2 separate regions of the Homo sapiens genome follow, and region 1 is linked to region 2. The links are contacts of gene promoters, found by promoter capture Hi-C in human tissues and cell types (Jung and others, 2019). All regions are on one chromosome and are shown on one strand. Each heading gives the region's core, a stretch centred on a gene start or on the middle of the fragment in contact. The rest is flanking DNA. Distances are from core to core; before and after follow the strand shown. Region 1 overlaps CNOT6 (CCR4-NOT transcription complex subunit 6). Region 2 holds the start of SCGB3A1 (secretoglobin family 3A member 1).

Region 1 (5,441 bases), core at 152-2,651, 40 kb before region 2:
TAATTCTAGCGTTTTGGGAGGCTGCGAGAGGATCATGAGGTCAGGAGATCGAGACCATTCTGGCCAACATGGTGAAACCCCATCTCTACTAAAAATACAAAAAATTAGCCAGGCGTGGTGGCGGGCACCTGTAGTCCCAGCTACTCGGGAGGCTGAGGCAGGAGAACAGTGTGAACCCGGGAGGTGGAGTGGCAGTGAGCCGAGATCACACCGCTGCACTCCAGCCTGGGTGACAGAGCGAGAGTCCATCTCAAAAAAAACAAAAACAAAAAAACATTTGTTGTGTTAGGAAACAAAACTGTTCATTTAATGGTATTTGAATAAAAGGAAACATAACTATATCCTTTATAACTTTATAGTTTTGTTTTTGGGAAAATTGAATGTCAGCTAATAATAAATTAAGTAGATCATTGGCTGAATTTTTTAATTACTGTATTTTGTGTAATAGACTTTATTTTTGAATGAGAAAGTTTGGACAGAGAGTGGGTAGACTGCAAGGTGCTTATGTTATCCCACATACTTCCTCATGACAAACAGGGCACCATACCATCCTTAACACAGGGTCCAGGAAACCATTGCCAGTTGGTGAAACCTTTTTGCCATCCCAGGGCTTGTATGTTTGATAGTAGTAAAGCCTGGACTTGAAGGAGCTATAATTATTAAATTTGGGGGCCTGTAGCATGAAATATATAGCATTTGGATTCACATGTGTAAGTTCAGGTTGGAATCTTAACTTTGCCATTTATGAGTTGTGTGATCTTGGACAACCTTCTTGACCCAGGATAAGGGATGTTTGAGATAATGGGTAAAAAAACACTAGTACCTTGCCTGGCATATACTGTGTTTTAAGAAATGGTAATTGCAGACTGCATGTGGTGGTTCATGTCTGTAATCCCAGTACTTTGAGTGGCTGAGGCGGGCTGATTGCTTGAGCCCAGGTGTTTCAGACCAGTCTGGTCAACATAGCGAGAACCTGGTCTCTACAAAAAAAAAAAAAAATCCCCAGATAATTAGCTGGGCTTCGTGGCATGCACCTGTAGTCCCTGCTACTTGGGAGGCTGAGGTGGAGGGATGGCTTGAGCCCAGGAGGTTGAGGTTGCAGTGAGCAGAGATCATGCCACTGCACTCCAGCCTGGGTGACAGAGCAAGACCCTGTCTCTACCCTCCTCCCCTCTAGAAAATAAGAAAGAAAAGAAATGGTCATTGCTATGTTTATTTTGATAGAGATGAGGGTCTCACTATGTTGCCCAGGCAGGTCTTAAACTCCTAGCCTCAAAAGATCCTCCCATCTTGGCCTCCCAGAGAATTGGGATTTCAGGCATGAGCCACTGTGGCTGGCCCATGATTATTATTATTATTTTACTTCTGTTTTATAAGGTAGATAAGATCTAACCAAGTTAATATAAAGCTAAATTCCATGTATTATGTTAATCCCAATGGAATATTTTGTACTATTTCATGTTAACTGACTTTTTGACATGGTTCCACTGGCTTTCCTGCTGCCTTCTGCCATTAGCCATGTAGTAAAAAGGAATAAGGACCTTTTGAAAGGTCTTTGCCTCTATTGCTCCTACTCCAGCCTTTTGACTTTTTTTTAGGTTTAATTGAGTTTGTTCTATGACTGTTTTTAGTCCTCTGAAACAAATTTACTTGAAGGACCTCCTTTTTCTTTTTCTTTTTTTTTTTTTGGAGACGGAATTTTACTCTTGTCGCCCAGACTGGAGTGCAATAGTGTGATCTCGGCTCACTGCAACCTCTGCCTCCGGGTTCAAGTGATTTTCCTGCCTCAGCCTTTCAAGTAGCTGGGATTACAAGCGTGTGCCACCATGCCCAGCTAATTTTTGTATTTGTAGTAGAGACAGGGTTTCACCATGTTGGCCAGGCTAGTCTCAAACTCCTGACCTCAAATGATCTGCCTGCCTCGGCCTCCCAAAGTGCTGGGATTACAGGCGTGAGCCACCGTGCCCAGCCCGAGGGACCTCCTTTTTTCTGTATATTGTATTTGGAAATAAACAGGAGCCAGATATCAGAACTTGCTCTTCTTGTTGAGTTTACAGCCACACAGACCTTCTGGCTTGCTCAGTAACCAAGATTCATTTAAATGTCAAAAACCAAAGATTATAGAAATAGATTTCTTGCACACTTAAAAAGTGACAAATAGGCTGGGCACGATGGCTCAAGCCTATAATCCCAGCACACTTTGGGAGGCCGAGGCGGGCGGATCACAAAGTCTGGAGATCGAGACCATCCTGGCTAACACGGTGAAACCCCGTCTCTACTAAAAATACAAAAAAAAAAATTAGCTGGGTGTGGTGGCAGGCACCTGTAGTCCCAGTTACTCGGGAGGCTGAGGCAGGAGAATGGCGTGAACCCGGGAGGCGGAGCTTGCAGTGAGCCGAGATCGCATCACTGCACTCCAGCCTGGGCAATGGAGCGAGACTCCGTCTCAAAAAAAAAAAAAAATTGAAAAATAAAACTGCATGCGTTACATTGCCACTGTGTCCGTATTGGGTCTCTGGTGGTTCTTTCCCCGCGTGTCCCCCCGGCTCACCCTTGAAGGTTCCTTTGATATTTATATCATGATTATCTCTGCAAAACAAATCATATTAAGAATAATCATGAACAGTTAATACAGCTGCTGTTATTTTTTAAATGCAACTTTAGTTGATAGCAATCATAAGCTTAATTATGCAGCTGTTACGAGCTCTTTTGAGTCGTTAACGAAATGATCATTTTAGTTCTCTTTTAAGAATTCACATGGTAGGCTGCTTTATCATTTCCACTTTCTTAAATGTGTAGTAGACCCCATGTGTACTAGACCAGTGATACTCAGTGTGGTCTGTGACCTGGTGCCAGTTTGCAAACTGTCTTGCCAGTCTGCAGTGAGATTAATACAGCAGTTGAGGAATTTTATATGTCTGTTAAATCTAATACTTTTTAAAAATTGGGTCTTACATTTTGTCCTTTTCCCCCATTATTTCATTTTCTCTAGTAATTTGTTTCTTGTATTCTCTGGCAGTTTTTTTTTTTAAACCACATGTTATTTAAGAAACGCAGTACTAGACATTGAAATATAACGTAACATTTTTTCATTCTTAGGTGCTTATGTTCCTAGAAACTATGTTGTTGATTTTAACTGTTAAAGGCTAACATATTTTTCTGACTTCCTGGAATTTTTACATCAACAGGGAGCTCCATTTAAATAACAACCTGTTACGAGTTCTACCTTTTGAGCTGGGAAAACTGTTTCAGTTGCAGACTTTAGGCCTGAAAGGTATGACTTCCATATTTGTACTTCTTATGGTTTGTGTATATGTCTTTGAATCTAAAGAAGCCAAGAAGCTTTCTGCTAGGGGATTCTTTTAAAGACTCATTTTCCCCCAGACTTCATCAGTTTCTTAGCTATATCGCAATGGTTTTATCTTCTCTGTTCAGCTGTAGACTATCTACTAGTCTTTGTTTTCTTTTTTTTTGCTCCGGACCCAGCCCTTCTTTTCTAGCCTCTGTTTTAATAAACCCTGTGTTCTGGTGATACATCCCTGAGGCTATGCTTTATTTCATCATGTTATAAACAGCTGTTTTTCTTAGATTCAAATCTCAAAAAACATGGAGCCTCTCATATAGTACAGAAAACAGGAAGTCGAAAATGTTGACCATTTGAACCTGCTGATGATCAAGATTTAAGCATATTTAAAAAAACTTGATTTATGAGGACTTGTGATTATAGGGCCATAATTGATCCAGCAAGAACTATTAGGAAATAAATATTTTTTAAGCCAACAATATTGAAAGTTATATTTTGACAGTATGTCAATGCCTATAAATTTTTTATCATGTTAAGCAGTTCTTCACCAGCCTTGGGTAGGTGTGTCTAGCCTACTGTACAGTTGCTTCTTCAAAAAAGTCACTAGATGAAGTCGTCAAGATTTGCACCCTTAGGCCGGGCACAGTGGCTCACACCTGTAATCACAAAACTTTGGGAGGCTGAGGTGGGTGGATATCTTGAGGCCAAGAGTTCAAGACCAGCATGAGCAACATGGCAAAACCCAATCTCTACCAAAAATACAAAAGTCAGCTTGGCATGGTGGTTCCCACCTGTAGTACCACCTACTTGGGAGGCTGAGGCATGAGACTTGCTTGAACCTGGGAAGCAGAGGTTGAAGTGAGGTGACATTGTGGCATTGCACTCCAGCCTGGGTGACAGAGCGAGACTCTGTCTTAAAAAAAAAAAAAAAAGGAATTGCACTCTTAGTTTCTTAAAAATACAGTTATATAAAAGGTTTTAGTCCTGTAAATATTTTATATATCATAAAAGAACAGTTTTTTTTAAATAAATAGAAATATATGTTTTAAAATGTACGGAAAGTCATATTCAACAGATATCAACATTGTAAATGGTTTGTAATTTTTTTTCTGTGTGGGCTGAACTAGCTAAGGCTTCTAAATATAAAGGCCAGTGAAATGCAAGATGAAGATGCCCTTTTCTGTTATATTTCCCAGTCTAGCTGTTTCTAAATTTGAAGAACAGAAAAGTACTGTGTGGCAAAGTGTCCATATACTGACTGCCAGAATTAACAGTGAATACTTTATCATTTTTGTGTATAATTTTTTTAATGCAAAAGAAATGGAACATTACAGAATGTTGAGACCCTCTTTGTTCTTCCAGTCTTCCTCATGGCGGAGGTATGTTTTTCCAATTCAAGGTTTTCCTAATCTTACACTATATATTTTACAAACTGTAATTTGTAATTCGTACTCACTAAGGCTTTTCACAAACTTTATTTGAAGTTAGGGTCACCAGTCACAAATTTGCTTTTTTTTTTTTTTGAGAGAGAGTCTCTTGTCGCCCAGGCTAGAGTGCAGTGGCATCATGATATCGGCTCACTGCAGCCTCCTTCTCCCTGGTTGAAGCAATTCTTCTGCTTCAGCCTCCCGAGTAGCTGAGATTACAGGTACCCACCACCATGCCCAGCTAATTTTTTGTGTTTTTAGCAGAGACGAGATTTCACCTGTTGGCTAGGCTGGTCTCAAACTCCTGACCTCAAGTCATTTGCCCTCCTTGGCCTCCCAAATTGCTGGGGTTACAGGCGTGAGCCACTGCACCAGGCCATAAATTTTCATACTGATTTAATGTACAGGAAAGCCTCTAAGTGTAAATGCCTGCAGCAGTAGGGCAGTTCTTTATGACTCCTTCATTTTTGATGATCCCTTGCTTTTCCATTTCAGATGCTTTACTTTATCACCTCTAGACATCTGTGTTTATTTCTTGGAAGTGTAGTTTCAAAGAGACATTTGCTTATCTCACATATCCTGCTGGACAGCATTACACATCTGTAATAGCAGTCTTCTTTTACTGGTTTTACTTCCTTTGGACAAATCCTTTTATTTTTTCTGAGCTTTTGCAGTTTACACTTTAATTCTAATGTTGTGTCGGAACATTG
Region 2 (5,391 bases), core at 640-3,139:
ATCAGTTGACAAAAGGTGGTCTCTCCGCTAGAGTAGAAGGAATCAAAGTCACTAGGTTATTTGGACAAAACCAGCAGAAACTGCAGGGAAAACAAGCCCAACAGCGGATTTCCTGAAGCCCTCATTCCTCCCCCATTCCGAGGAAGAAATCTACAAGTATAGAGGGAAAAAATAAAAACTTTCAAATTTTAGCAACAAATGGCTTTGGTGCGTTTGCATTCTCGCCAGTCTTCAAGGAGTAGATAATTTTTATGCTTCATAAACAGTTACAGAGCACAACAGGAAGAAAGACCTGCCAGTTTTGTTTCCAAATCCGGTTTACCTCTGATACTGGCCCCATCTCTGTCACCTTGCACTGCTGGCTCTATGCCACCTGCAGACTCTCGCGGCCTCTCTCTCCCTCTCTCACGCAGCACCCCTCACAAAATCTGGGACTTGGCACTCTCGGTCCCCCACAGGGATCAGCATTTGGATGAGAAAATACCAGGCTCGAGCTGCTCTTAACCACGTTTATTGAGAGGGGCCGGGGGAAGGGGATGGACGGTCCTCCCCGCGGCGGGGTTTTCAGCCCTCGCGGGTGGGCAGCGTCTTGTCCTCAGGTGTAGATGCTCCAGTCTCGGCTCAGCCAAACACTGTCAGGGCCCCCTGGAAAGCAGAAGCCGAGCTTGAGTGCCCCCAGCCCTGCCACCAAGAACTCAGGCGGGGGCGCGGCAGCGGCCGGCTCTGTGGGGAGCGGGAGCGGGGCGGTTCCGCTGGCGTCTCCGGGGGACGCGCACCCGCGCGGGGCCATCTCCGCCTTCCCCGCCCCTGCAGCTCGGATGCGCCCCACCCAGTTCCCACCCGGAGACCCGGGCTTCTCCCAGGGACAGGGCTTGGAGGGGCAGGACGGGAAACAGCCCTGACGTAGGGCCGGGACACCTCTGGTGCAGTTTTGAGGCTGGCCGGGAAGGGATGCCCGCGCAGGAAGGGCACCCGGGGTGCCCACTTTACCAGCAGGGCCTTCAGGGCCTTCACGGCCCCCACGGCCTGGGGACCCAGCTCAGCCACACACTTCTGGGAGCCCTCTATGAGGTGGTTCACGGGGATGCCCAGGCTGCTCAGCAGGAGCTTCAGCGGGTTGAGGGTGCCGAGGGGGTTGGCCAGGGTCCCGGCCCCGGCCTCCGCCGCCGACTCCAGCGCAGCGACAGGCTGGGCCACAGGCTTGGCCGAGCCCACTAAGAAAGCAGCAGCTGCAAGCGAACAGGGAGGGGTCACCGCCTGCGCGCCGGGGTCCCCAGAAGGCAGGTCCAGGACGCGCCCCCGCGGGAGGCGCCCAGGAACCGTCGCGCCCTGCCCGGCTCCCCGACCGCCCCTCCCTCCTGCGCCGAGGCCTGCCAGGTGCGAGCCCCCGGGACACAGGCGGGTCTGGGGAGGCGGCCCCGCCAGGAGACGCTGCAGGGTCACCGGAGTGGCCTGAGGGTGGCGGAAGGACCGGTGAACTCTGTGCAGGGTCCGGGACAGGCCCCCAAGGGAGGGGACACTCGCGCTGCGCCTTGCAGGATGAGGAGCCGGTCTCCAGACGGGGGGCAGACGGGTGTCCCCAGGCCAGGGGCGGCCTCCATCCCGGCACGAGGCTGGAGACAGCCCTGAGAGGGGGAGGCCGCGGGCTGCAGGCGCGGGGCCCCGGGGTGGCGGAGCCCTCTGGGCGCCGGGCGAGGCTGGAAGGACCTGGGATCCACGATCGGCGCAGGCAGCGGCGGGGGCGCAGCGGGCGCCGAGGCCTCAGGCCCCACCGTGCGCGCCAGGAGCCCGGGGCGCTCACCGGAGCTGCAGGACAGGGCCACGCAGAGCCCCAGGAGGGCGGCGAGCTTCATGGCGCGGGGGCTCGGGGCGCGCGGGGAACCTGCGGCTGCCCGGGCAAGGCCACGAGGCTTCTTATACCCGGTCCTCGCCCCTCCAGCGCCGGCCTCGCCCGCGCTCCTGAGAAAGCCCTGCCCGCTCCGCTCACGGCCGTGCCCTGGCCAACTTCCTGCTGCGGCCGGCGGGCCCTGGGAAGCCCGTGCCCCCTTCCCTGCCCGGGCCTCGAGGACTTCCTCTTGGCAGGCGCTGGGGCCCTCTGAGAGCAGGCAGGCCCGGCCTTTGTCTCCGCGAGGCCCACCCCGGCCCGCACCTTCGCTTTGCGGTCTGACCCCACGCGCCCCCCTGCAGGGCTGGGCCCGGGTGAGGGGAGCTTCCCTCGCGCCAGGGCAGGGGCGGGGGCGGCGCAGTTCCTGGCTCCCTGGTCCCTGCCTCTGATCCCAGACCGTGGCAACGTCGGGCACTGGGGGTCCTCGTGGGCGCCTTCTGCGCCTGGGGAGGTGGAGGCGCCAGGGACGATCAGGCCTCACTCCCGGCCGCCTCCCCGGCCGGGCCACAGGCAGCCACAGTGCAAACAGAAGTGGGGCGTTTTTCTGTCTTCGAAACTAGCCTCGACGCCAGTGGATGGGCCTGGTTTGTTCCTGAGTTTCTCTAAATGTCCTCACTCGTCTGTCACCTGCAGAAGTATGACAGATGGAGAGCAAAGCACATTTTGAAAACTTTTGCAAATGATACATAAACTAATTTGCTTTTAGTCCTTCTTCTTTCCTCTATTTTTTGACCCCAGGCATTGAGCACTGAGTGACTCACGTTTTGCTGCGTGGCTGCTCTCAGCTAGGTTGGTGCAAAGTCTCTCTTTTCTTTTGTAAAGTGTAGCTGGCACGCGTGGGAAACAGGCTCCCGGGTGGGAGGACCTGACTCTTCAGGCAGTGTCCTGGAATTCCTTCCCTATGGCTGACAGCACGTCTTAGCCCTCAGCCACCCCGAGCTACTGCGGCCTCCTCCGCACCTGCAGACACTTGTGCCTTTGCCAACTGTTGTGGCCAGGCACACGCATTCACACTGTTTCTGTTCACTTACACTTTTCCTTGACTATTTTGTTTGGGGGATTTTTGCATTATAAATCTGGAGTTTGGTTGTGTTTTGTTGGTCATCATGGAAGTAATTTTAATGGGAAATACGTTTTCTTTTTTAAAAACAGTTTGAAGTTAATTACTTTTTTGGTGGTGGTAAAGACACTGTCTTGCCGTGTTGCCCAGGCTGGTCTCGAACTCCTGAGCTCAAGCAATCCTCCCACCTCAGACTCCCAAGTAGCTGGGACTAGAGGTGTGAGCCACCACACTCAGCGGATTTTGATTTTGTTTTTTGTTTGTTTGTTTTTTGAGACAGTCTCACTCTGTCGCCCAGGCTGGAGTGTAGTGAGGTGATCTTGGTTCACTGCAGCCTCCACCTCCCAGGCTCAAGCAATTCTCCCACCTCAGCCTCCCAAGCAGGTGGGGCTATAGGTGTGCACCACTATGTCCAGCTAATTTTGTTTATTTTTTGTAGAGACAAAGTCTCACTGTGTTGCCCAGACTGGTCTTGAACTCTTAGCCTCAAGTGATACTCTTGCCTCAGCCTCCCAAAGTGCTGGGATTACAGGTGTGAGCCACCACGCCTGGCTTGATTTATTTTTATTTTTTCTAGAGATGGGGTCTCGCTACATTGACCAAGCTGGTCTCAAAATCCTGGCCTGAAGCAATCCTCCCGCCTCAGACTCCCAAGGTGCTGTGATGACACGTGTGAGCCACCCCGCACAGCCCAGCTTCACCATCTTAAGGGCACACTCCATTAGCATTAAGTATATTCTAATGTTGTGCAAACATCACCACAATCCATTTCCAGAACTCTTTTCCTCTTATAAAACTGAAACTCTGAGCCTATTAAACAACTCCCCACTCCCCTCCCCAAGCCCTTGGCACCACCATTCCACTTTCTGTCTCTGAATCTGGCCACTCCCGGCACCTCATATGAGTGGAATCGGGCAGTGTTTGTCTTTTGTGTCTGGCGTATTTCACTTAGCATGATATCCTCCAGGTTCATTCATGACCTTCAGAGTTTCCTTCCTTCTTAGGGTAGGATACTGCTCCATTGCATGGCTGTGCCACGTTTTCTTCACCCATTCACTTCACCCGTGGGTGGACATGTGGGCGCTTGCATGTTTTCACTGCTGTGAGTAATGCGGCCGTGAACACGGCTGTGCAAATGCCTCTTTGGGACCCTGCTGTTGGCTGTTTTGGGTGGCTGCTCAGAGGTAGAATGGCTGGAGCCTGTGGAACTTGCCTGTGTCATTTGTGAGGATCTGCCATCTCTCCCATAGCAGCGGCACCACGCTGCCTTCCCAGCAACAATGCACAAGGATCCCAGTGTGTCCACAACCTCATGATGCTTGTTCTTCTCCTGAGCAGGATCTGGCAGCCTTGGCCCAAGCAATCCCAGTGGGCGCATCTTGGGAGCTGACTTTGGGGCCACCTTTCCCCATGCTGCCTGGGGACCAGAGAACACTGACCGCGGGAAAGACCGATGCTGCCGAGGCCAGGAGGAGGGGGAGGCCGTCATCTGTGGGTCCCCAGCAGCGCTTGGGGTCCTGGCCACTCCAGCGGCCCCTTGCACCTGCCTCCAGGGATCCTTTGTCTTCAAAATAACCTCCCTCCACCTTCCGGCTCATAGTGCCTTGGGTGGATCTGTTCCCATTTCCCACAAGCCTGCAGGGTGGTGACAGGCCCTCATTCCCATGTGCCCCAAGATTTCGGATTCCAAAAATACATCCCCTGGCTCCCCGGAGAAGTGTGTCACGGTGTCTCCGTTTCACCACTGACAGGGCCAAAGGATGTGCTCTCCTCTCCCGAGCTGCCATGGTCAAGGCAAGCCAGGACTCACCTCAGGCTGGCCCAGCCCCTCACCCCACACTGGCTCTGGGGGCCACGGCTGGCGAAGCCTCTGCGGTAGTTGGGGATCAGGCAGGCCGAGGGTCTGGCCTGTGCCGAGACCTGCACAGCTGGGTCAGCGGCTGCCTCTGTATTCATTTCCTGAGGCTGCTGTGACAAGTCACCACATACCTGGTGGCTGAAAACAACACATTTACTCCGCTCGCAGTTCTGGAGCCCAGAAGTGCAGTGTCACGGGGGTGAAGGCGAGGCGTCGGGGGCCGCTCCTCCTCCAGAGGCTGGGCCTTCCCAGGAGCTTATCCACTCCTGGCCTCTCCCTGCTTATGGGGGCTGCCAGGGCCCCTTGGCTGGTGACTGCATCACTCCAGTCTCTGCCTCCTGGTCACATGGCCTCCTCCTCTTCTGTGTGTGTGGGTGTGTGTGTGAGGGTGCGTGGGGTGTGTGTGTGAGGGTTTGTCGGTGTGTGGGTGTGTGTGGGTGTGTGGGTGTGTGTGGGGGTGTGTGTGGGTGTGTGAGGGTTCGTGTGTGGGTGTGTGGGAGTGAGAGGGTATGGGTGTGTGTGAGGGTGTGTGAGGGTATGTGTGGGTGTGTGAGTGTGTGTGGGGTGTGTGTGAGGGTGTGTATGTGT

The links. Contacts are between HindIII fragments. The study calls those that stand out against the background at their distance.
Region 1: a contact is called between a fragment that was not itself captured here and the fragment with the promoter of SCGB3A1 in region 2, in 1 of the 25 tissues and cell types used here (thymus).

What each region holds. Positions count from the first base shown.
Region 1 is chr5:180,550,198-180,555,638 of GRCh38, forward strand. It overlaps CNOT6 (CCR4-NOT transcription complex subunit 6), which reads left to right. Exons shown (of 12, transcript NM_001370472.1): 4 at 3,189-3,274. Among named protein-coding and RNA genes, the nearest start is that of SCGB3A1, 39 kb to the right of the region's middle. The HindIII fragment of the contact is 3,220 bases long and covers 1-3,011 here.
Region 2 is chr5:180,589,610-180,595,000 of GRCh38, forward strand. SCGB3A1 (secretoglobin family 3A member 1) reads right to left here and starts at 1,890. Exons shown (of 3, transcript NM_052863.3): 1 at 1,802-1,890; 2 at 991-1,229; 3 at 496-645. The coding sequence starts at 1,853. The coding sequence ends at 622. It overlaps LOC124901154 (a long non-coding RNA gene), which reads left to right and starts at 3,561. Exons shown (of 2, transcript XR_007059088.1): 1 at 3,561-3,600; 2 at 4,284-4,659. RefSeq lists enhancers at 82-751, 752-1,421, 1,422-2,091. The HindIII fragment of the contact is 36,128 bases long and covers 1-5,391 here.